Regions from separate parts of the Homo sapiens genome. Here region 1 is linked to region 2. Evidence: promoter capture Hi-C in human tissues and cell types (Jung and others, 2019). All regions are on one chromosome and are shown on one strand. Each heading gives the region's core, a stretch centred on a gene start or on the middle of the fragment in contact. The rest is flanking DNA. Distances are from core to core; before and after follow the strand shown.

What was found. The method cuts DNA at HindIII sites, captures the fragments that hold promoters and counts their contacts. A contact is called where the count stands out against the background at its distance.
Region 1: the fragment with the promoter of IFITM5 here is called in contact with the fragment with the promoter of PKP3 in region 2 in 4 of the 25 tissues and cell types used here (H1 embryonic stem cells, IMR-90 fibroblasts, adrenal gland and 1 more).

The regions. Positions count from the first base shown.
Region 1 is chr11:296,331-300,892 of GRCh38, reverse strand. IFITM5 (interferon induced transmembrane protein 5) reads left to right here and starts at 1,367. Exons shown (of 2, transcript NM_001025295.3): 1 at 1,367-1,588; 2 at 2,180-2,693. The coding sequence starts at 1,403. The coding sequence ends at 2,392. RefSeq lists an enhancer at 2,037-2,196. The HindIII fragment of the contact is 20,921 bases long and covers 1-4,562 here.
Region 2 is chr11:390,826-395,539 of GRCh38, reverse strand. It overlaps PKP3 (plakophilin 3), which reads right to left and starts at 1,331. Exons shown (of 13, transcript NM_007183.4): 1 at 1,016-1,331. The coding sequence starts at 1,247. RefSeq lists an enhancer at 1,116-1,878. The HindIII fragment of the contact is 50,700 bases long and covers 1-4,714 here.

The DNA.
Region 1 (4,562 bases), core at 118-2,617, 95 kb after region 2:
CGAGTCTTCCCTGCCTTGCTTTGCATTGTCCTGCCTTTCCAGACTGAACCAATGTTCATCTTACATATGTTGACTGATGTCTCCTGTGTCCCTAGAATGTATAAAACCAAACTGTGCTCCGACCACCTTGGGTACAGATCCTCAGGAGCTCCAGAGGCTGTCACAGGCACATCCTCAATCTTGGCAAAATAATCTAAATTAACCGAGACCTGTCTCAGATATTTGGGGTTCACAGGCTCAAGCACAGCAGCAAGGAACCCCCCACCCAACCATCCCCTGCAGGTGGCGAGTGTGCGTCCTGGAGGAGGGAGGGCAGCTTGGTCCTGGGCACTCAGGAGTGTGGCCGACTGGGAGACGGGGAAGCTGAGCCTTCTGGCCCGGTGCAGTTGCCACCACTGCTCCGGGGAAGGCTTGGCAGAGGAGGTTGGGAGGGAGGATCCAGGGTCTATTGTTGGCACGTGGGTGGAGGTCCACAGAGCAGGAGTTGCGTGTGTGTGTCCAGAGCTGGGGACCAAGCCAATGTCTTTGGGGGGAAGTCTGGGCTGAAGACATAAATGTGAGTCGTCAGCACACACAGGCATCTACAGCCAGAGACAAGACTGGGGCGGACCTTGAGCCCTAAACAGGACCACTCACCACAGACATTCTGGGATCAGGGAGGGCAGCCGAGGAGGCTGAGGGGAGTGTCCACCACAGGAGCCCACAGGCTCCCTGCATCCCGACACCAGTGTTAACAGCTGTTGCTGGTCCCTGGGGGTTCCCCTGCCGGCTCCTAACAGGCTGCACCCCCTGGCTTTCCCCCCATGTGGTTCTCTCCTTCTCTCTCGCGCCCTCCTCCGACAGCCGCCCTCCCTGTCCCCCTTGCAGGGATGCCTGCGCTCCTAGGGCCTGGCGCTGGTGCTCTGAGAGTGTTAGGGGCAGAGTTGAGTTCTGGGAATGAAGGGGCTGCAGTTTCAGCAGCTCTGGTTCTGAGGAGGGGGCTCCTGTACATCCCTGAATTATGAGGCCCATGGCCCTGAGGCGACACCTCCAACTCTTCTTGGCCTGGACGGAGGGGGCTCTGGCCAGTGGTCTGCCCACTGCCCACTTGGCCAGCAGCCTTTGATGGGGGTGGGGGGATGGGTGGGGGTCTCTGCCACTGCCCGGCCGTAGCCTTCCAAGCGGGGGGCTCCCAGATGGGATGTCTGTCAGGAGGGACCCTGCTGGGTGGTCCAAGGCAGCCTCGGACAGGGGCTCCCTGGGGTGGGGGCTAAGGGGCGGGCCGCACCCTCGGCCCGCAGGCTGTAATTTGTGTTATATATAGCGTTGAGGGGCTGGGCCGGGAGGGCGACAGGGCTATAAGTGAGCGGGTGCCCACCCTCCCAGCACCAGTCTGAGTGTGGAAGAGACGGCGCTGGAACCCATGGACACGGCGTATCCCCGCGAGGACACCCGGGCCCCCACGCCCAGCAAGGCCGGTGCCCACACAGCCCTCACACTGGGGGCCCCGCACCCCCCGCCTCGAGACCACTTGATCTGGTCGGTGTTCAGCACCCTCTACCTGAATCTGTGTTGCCTCGGCTTCCTGGCGCTGGCCTACTCCATCAAGGTGGGCAGGGGCCCTACCGAGGTTGCGGGGGAGGCTCCACTACTCCATCAAGGTGGGGGGAAGGGGGAGGGATGGGGAGCTCCGTGGGGGGTCCTTGCCGTGCTGGGGGCCGCGGGGGGCTCTGCTTGTCCGTGAGGGGCTCTGTGGGCACAGCTATCAGTATGGCCGGGAAAGAGCTCCTCACGAAGGCAAGGCCGGGGGGCCTCTTCTTAACGGGGTCTGGCCCATCCAAGAGCACAGAGGCCATTGGGAGGCACCCACAGAGGTCTCTGCAATCAAGAGGGGGTTCACATGCTGTGGGCTTCTGGAACAGAGGTCCCTTTGACTTCAGCTCCTGGCTGGCAGGGTGGGGGGTGTCTCAGCACCCTGGGGGACCCTCACCCATAGAGAGCTCTGATAGGCTGACACTGGCCTGGGATGGCCCCCGGGTCCATAGCTGGGGCCCCAAGGAGTATCTCCTCAGGCCACACCCCTCCATCCAGATTTTGGGTGCAGTAGGGGCCTTCCAGGTGCCCAGGGTGTGGGTGGGGAAGGGCCCCCAGGCCCCGAGGACACATAGAGATCTGGCCCTGTGGTCTGGTCTCTCTGCAGGCCCGAGATCAGAAGGTGGTTGGTGACCTGGAAGCGGCCCGGCGTTTTGGCTCCAAAGCCAAGTGCTACAACATCCTGGCCGCGATGTGGACGCTGGTGCCGCCACTGCTGCTCCTGGGGCTGGTGGTGACTGGTGCCCTGCACCTGGCCCGGCTGGCCAAGGACTCTGCCGCCTTCTTCAGCACCAAGTTTGATGACGCGGACTATGACTGACAGGCTGGGTCCTGATCTGGGGCACTAGCCCCAGGACACTGACCCCAGGCTGCTGCCCCTGGGGCCCAATACTGACTCCCCGGAGCCTGGCCCTCCTTCTGTGGGGCCTCCATCCCTGCCCCATCCTGATCCTGGGGCCCTCCAGCCCCAACATGGGCACCTAAGGCTGAACCAGTCAGACCCCGGGGTCTTCACCCTAACCCGAGAGTTCCCGGGCCCTAACTCTGCCCCCGATCCTGCCCCTCCCTCCTCACACTCCAGGCCCCTCGGTTCCACGATTAAAAGTGCCTGGTTCCAGAAAGTGCCTCCTGGCCTCTTTCCTGCCTAGCGTGGGGGAAGGAGCTGCCCTAGGGACCACCAAAGCCAAATGCCACAGGGCCAGCCCCCAGAGTCAGTGGCGGGAGCGCCCCCCGCAGCTCAGCAGCCCTGCTTGGCCCCAACTGTCCCCTTCTCTCAGCCACTGGGCGGCCTGTGGCTTACGGGGCGGAGGCCCAGAGTATTTTAGACTAAGTTTGAGAGCCCAGGCCTTTGATCTCTGCTGCTCTGTGGTTTAGCGGCCTGTGCTCCAGAACATCATGGGTGCGTCCCAACCCCACGTGTGTCCACCCCATCTCTCTGTGCGCATGTGTGTGCGTGCTCGAAGTCTGCGTGAGAGTCCGTGCCTGTGGGTGGGCTCCATCTGCGGTCTGGTGTACACCTCCTTCCTTTCTGGGTCATTCTGTCTGTCCCCATGACCCTGCGTGCCCCCTTAATTCTGAGAAATCCCAGTCCCCACGGTGGTTTCCCTCCCTCCTGGGCCAGTGAGGGTGGCTAGAAAGGCAGGGCGGGGACGATCCCATGGGTGGGGCTGGACACACACACAAACACATGTGGGAAGGATAGCAGCTTCCCTTTCTCTCTCACACACACACACACACACACACCCCAACCAAACTATATCCAGAAAGGCAGAAAATGGGCATGTGTGCAACATTCTCTGAGTCCCCTGGTGCTGGGTGCATGTTCTCATATTATTTTACCTGCGTTGTGTACCACAGCCTCCCCACACACCCACCACAGCCTGGTGATGGGAGAGGGCCAGGGACATGCACACTGCGAGGCTGCGGGGAGGCCCTGGGGCCTCGCTGAGGCCAGCCATTGCCGGGAGGTGGTGGTTAACAGCACAGTGGCCCAGGGTTCTGAGCACCCCACTCCGGGGCCCTTCCCTTCCCGGGGAATCGCCGTTGCCTGCCTGCTCTTCCTGGGCTGTGGGCAGGAATCTTTTGGTCTACTCGGAGCCCTGGGCAGCATCCCCTATCTGTGATATGCCTGCAGCCAACGGCTGGCGTGGCAGGGACTCTGAGGGCAGGCCCAGCCAGCCCTGGAGGCAGAGGTGTGTGGAGGCCATGCTGGGCGCTGGAGACAGACAGGACCAGTCCCACAGTGGACCAAGGACAAGGGCAGTGTGCCCACCTGTGCTTGCCTTGGGATAGAGACAGTGTGCCAGCCCTGAGCCTCAGGATTGGCCTGAGAAGGGATCAAACTGTGTCGGGTGCAGAGACTGGGAGGGGGTCAGCCCATGTGTGGCTGGATACGTGTCCCCAGAAAAGAGACGGTCTGCCAGTCCCCAGGCTTACTGAGGGGCAGGGACGACCTGGTCCATTCCCGGTGCTGTGGGTGAGCCACCTTGGGGGAACGGTCACCAGCACCTCCCTGCCTCAGGCTCAGGCTCCTGGGCAGGCGATGAACCCTGACCAGCCCTGCCGGCACACGTGCACTGACCATCACGACCCCCCCAAAAGGGTCACCTCAGGATGTGCAGAGGTGGCCCCACACGCGTGTGGCACGCACGTGCAGCAGGCTTCAGGCCATATCTCTCCTGCGGGCGCAAGGCTACCGACCACCCTGACTTGACACCTGTGCCCACATCACCCTGGCTCTGGGGCTGCAAAGATGAACTCCTGCTGGGGCAACCGTGGCCGGGAGAAGGGGCCCATGCTTCCCTCGGGGAACCTGCCTCTGCCTCTCGCTGCCCAGCGACAGCGTCGGATGGGACCCAGCTCTGCAGCTGAGGGAGCCTGTAGGGGCCGGGGGAGCCACGTGGAGGCGTCAGGCTGCATTCTGCGAGACTCCTGCCCGGCACTGGACTGCATGCCGGGCTGCCCCCTGACCCACAGCCCCTCTCCACTGT
Region 2 (4,714 bases), core at 82-2,581:
TTGGCAGGGCAGCCAGGGTGGTAATTAACCCTTCCCTCACCGTCCTCCACCCCATGACCCCTGGGCACCCGACTTGGTCACCAGCAAGGCTGAGGCCCCTGGAGGGAGGACCCCACAGTCCAGGCCGCCGGGCCGGCCCCTCCGCTGGGCGACCTTCACTTCCCCCTGGCCAGTGGCTGGAGGCCAGTCCTGGGGAAGGCCCCTCTAAACACCAAGTGGACCATGATGAACTGGCATCTGGGTCCCTGGCATTCTGGGAGGTCCATCTTACTGTCTAACCTTAATCCCTGTTGCTGTAGCCTGGGAAGGAGGAAATGGCGTTCCTAGAACCACTGCCTTCAACTCACAGCGTCTGTGCTCCTGTCACTCACACTCACACGCATGCACACACACTCGCGTGAGTGGGGCCAGGATTCCGCCACAGGTGGGTCTGGCTGGCACCGAGGGGTGCTCCTCCACCTGCTGTTCCCACAGAGAAATCTAGGTCACTCCAGCCGGGCCCTCCCCTCTAATTCCTCAGGGAGCCCCTGGTCCAGACAGGCCTGGCTTTCCTCCAGGACTTCCAGCACCCCCACACCTCTCCCCGCTTTCCCGTTCTGCTCATTCCCGTGAGGTATGGGAGGAGCGTGGGTGTCTGGGTGTCCCTGAGACCCTATGTGAGTCTGTGCTACCGGGGCCAGGCGCGTGCGTGTTCCGGGTTTGCCGACCGAGTGGCCTGGCCCGCCTGCCATGTGCCAACCTTCCCTGTCATCCCCCACAGGGATGGCTCCAGGACTCCAGGCACAGGTGGGGCCTGGCCAGGCTCAGTCTTTGGAGGACCCCGGGGTCCCTGCTTGGACAGGGCAGCCCCACCCATGGCTTCTCCCCACGCCCCTGGGGCGGGGTGTGTGACTCAGTGTGAGGCCTGGTGAGTCAGGAGCCGGCCTCACTGCGGCCTCTGCCCTCACACTATCACGTCCGCCCGCAGCCACCTCTCCCCGCCACCGCCATCCCCGCCGCTGTCCCCACCGCCTACCTCTGGCAGTCTCGGCCTCAGGCTCGGGCTCAGCGGCCCCGTTGTGCCGCGGCTGCTGTCCCAGCTGCAAGAGGCGGGCGCGGACCTGCTCCTGGACGCGGGCTGCCCGCAGCCGCTCGGCCTCCGGCCCCTCGGCGCCCCGGCGGTCCAGCTGCAGGTCAGAGGGCAGCGCCAGGGAGCACACGCCGGCCTCAGGCTGCAGGGCCGACAGCAGGAAGTTACCGTCCTGCATGGCGGCAGGTCCACCGGGCCTGGGCCTGGCGGCCGCCTCCAAACCCAACTATCTTCACGTCCTGTCCCTCGAGGCCCTCTCCCTGAAGTCCCCGCCCAGCCAGCCTCACCCAGAGCCGCCTGAAGACAGACGCCTGCCCAGCCCTGAGCGCAGCTGGGGGCGGGGACACCTGGCCAGGTGGGAGGGAGGGGCCGCCGCCTGCTTAAGGTGGAATTTGGGCGGAAGAACAGGCCCTGCATGGCCCCAGGTCCCAGCCTGGCCTCCCGCCTCCTTTTCTCCCATCCCACAACAGGGCCACGGGGACCTGGGTCCTTCTTGTTCTCAGCCTGTAAAGGCCAGACCGGGCCCTTTGTCGTGGGGCTGGGACAGAGGGGCCCTCTGTGTCCTGAGTGTCAGGGAAGGGCAGGGGGCCTGCGGGGGGCCTATGTCCTGCCACCCCCAGCATGAAGGGGAGGGTGCCCCAGTCCCTGGGGGTCTAGGGCCCTAGGTAGCTCCAAGAATCAGCCAGCCTCCATGGTAGCCCAGCCTTCCTGGTGAGGTGGGGATGAGGCCTAGGAAGGGTTGGCAGGAGACACTGTCGGGAGTCAGGGGTCAGTGCCAGGGATCAGGACAAAGGCTGGAGGGACAGAGCTTTAGGGTCCAACGGGACTCCATGGAGGCCCTGGCCCTGGTCCTTGGAATCCAGCGAGCCCCCTCCGCACCAGGAAGCATGTGGATGGACCGGCCCTCCCCCGAAGCCTGCAGACCCTGGAACTCACCCCCAGGACCCCCTCACCCCCTACAGAGGCCTCCAAAACCCTCTCTGGCTTCTGGGACCCTGGCACCACTGCTCCTGCACCCCAGGCCCTGGGGTGGGAGGCCGTTCCCAGCACATGAGTCAGGGTGCAGGGGGGCGGGGCCGCCCCAGGGGGTTGACTCAGAGGGCCTGCACTCCTGTCAGCGCATGTCAGGCTGGGGCAGGAGCGGGTGTGCAGGGAAGAACCAGGGGTCTGGAAGAGCAGAGGCCTGGATGGAGAGGGAGCGAGGGTGGGGGGCCCCTGGTGGGGGTGGGGTAGTGGGGGGCCCCTGGTGGGGGGGCCCTGGACCAAGCAGGGCTTGTGCCCAGAAGGTCTCCTTCTAGCACCACAGCCAGCAAATGGGCTCTGAGGCCCTCTAGCCTCTGGGACAAGCCCCTGGTAGATGGGGGTGGGGATAAGCCTAGGAGGGCTGGGGGTGGGAGCTGAACATCTATGACAACCTCTGGGCTTCTCTCACGAGCTCATCGGACAGCCTCTGCTTCTCCCTGGACCCTGGACCCTGGCTCTGGGCTCTCCTCCAGGGCAGACCCTTGCCCCCTAGCTCCGTCCCTGGAAGATTTTTGCCTTAATGGGGCTGGGGCAGGGGTCTGGCGTGAGGGCCGGGTCAGGGTTAGGAGGCAGCATTAAGGGTGAGGTCAGTTCTGAGGGGAGGAAGCTGGAGAGTAGGAGTCGGAGGTCAGCGTGGGGGGTTAAAGGGGGAGGGGAAGGTCCACTGAAAGGATGGGTGAGGCCCGGGCTGGGGCCACCAGGTGGGGTCGGGGTGGTGGGGAAGGGGTGGGAGACCTACCCGGCTCGTGGTCCGGATCCCGCCAGCCTCCCAGCTCATCCCAGAGGCCACTGCTGACGGCCGAGGTGTCCAGGACTCCATCCCTGGCCCGGCGCGTGCGGGGCAGCCTCTGCGGCGGGGACAGGACTGTGGGGGCCTCGGAGGGCGGGGTGGGAACGCCCAGCTCATCGGACTGGCTGATTCCCTGGGAGACAGGTTTCGTGTGGAAAAATCCTGGGAGACAAGTTTGTGCGGCGCAGAGCGGGCCTGGAGGTATGTGCCTGGCATGGGCTGGGTCCCGCCCTGCACCCAGGTCCACCCCAGGCCCACCTGGGGCCCTGCAGGGGCCAGGCTGGGCGGCATGAGGGGGAAGCCAGCCTGGAGGGCCTCTGCAGCCCAGTCAGGCCGAAGGGCTCACAAGAGGACTCAGTGAAGGGGCTTCCGTGCGGCTGGAGCTATGATGGGAACGCCGGTACCCCGCGGCCTGCAGGGCCCCCAGGGCCGACTCTGCCCACCTTCCCTCCTCCCCTTGGCAGAGAGGGCTGTGGGTGCCCCCCCCCAGAGCTGCGGCGCCTCCCTGAGGATGCGTGGTGCCCGCCAGGCACAGTTTTGGCAAAGCCAGGAATCTGGGGTGCACCTTCCCTCACTGCGGCCGGGCCAGACGGATGGCGATGCCTGCTAGGCCACCGCTGCAGCTTCCAGCTCCAGGCTCGGCGGAGTCTCATCTGATCCCTGTGACCAGCCCTGAGGGTCGCACTCTCCCTGGAGCCAGCTCCTGACACAGGAGCCCTGGAGGGGGGCTTGACGGTAGGCTTCCTGGAGGAAGCGGTTGTCTGTGGGGCCCGGAATCTGCACGGAGCCTCGGGCCGCTTGGGTGCACAATCAGGTTGAGAGCCTGGAACCTGAGGGCCTCGAAGGGTGAGTGAGCGCTGCTCTTAGATGGGTCCTGGGTGGGGTGTGGCCTGTCAGTCACCTCCCAAGAGGCGGTGGGAGAGGGCGCAGGAGGGCTTCGGGGCATGGTGGGCTCAGCGTGGGGGGCACGGGAGGCGCTCACAGAGAAGGTCGGCTGGGCCCAGGTCGTGGGCAGAGCTGCCAGGTGCGTGCCCGGAGTTGTGGGAGGGCACAGAAGACAAACCTCCAGGGCAGAGCCTGCGTGGGTGGAGGGGGTTGGGGTGGTCGTCTTAAGGAGCAGAAGGGGGAGGATCTGGGGAGAAAGGTGTGAGGACGTTGGAAGCAAAATATAGTCAAAGCCGAATTCAGGAGTGAGCCGGTGCACAGAGAGGCTTGGGAGGCTGCCTCAGGTCCCACCGCCTGCAGGGGCGGGGTTCGGAGTGCATTAGGGGAGCCCCTTGGTGGTTGATGGACCCGGCGTGGGGGCACAGCTCACCCAGAGGCAAGCGTCCTGGCGCTTCCTGTTGGCGCCCACGCTTGCAAACCTTCTGACTTGGGCTCCAGCCAAGTCCAGCCCCTCCACGGAGCCTGCCCGGCTGCCCATGGGCACCACCCCTCACCTTGTGGAGTGTGGCCCCTGCCCCGCGCCTGTGGCTGGGGCAGCTCTGAGGTCTCTGGCCTTGGTCCTTGGCATGGAAAGTAGCTGAGGGGTATGGCCCCTGTAGGCTCTTGGGGGGGACACCTTTCATCTGCACACACCCCGTCCACTGCCGGCCTGTTGGTCAGTCTGTCCATCTGTCCGTCCACTACTTGTTCGTTCATCAGACGAGTCCCGGGCTCTTGCTATGCCCCCGGCGCTCCTCTGGGGAAGGGGGCGTCTGTCTGAGGCAGGCGGGGCATCTCCCGGGGGTTCTCCTGGGGTCTGGCCTCAGGACCCCGGCGCTCCTCTGGGGAAGGGGGCGTCTGTCTGAGGCAGGCGGGGCATCTCCCGGGGGTTCTCCTGGGGTCTGGCC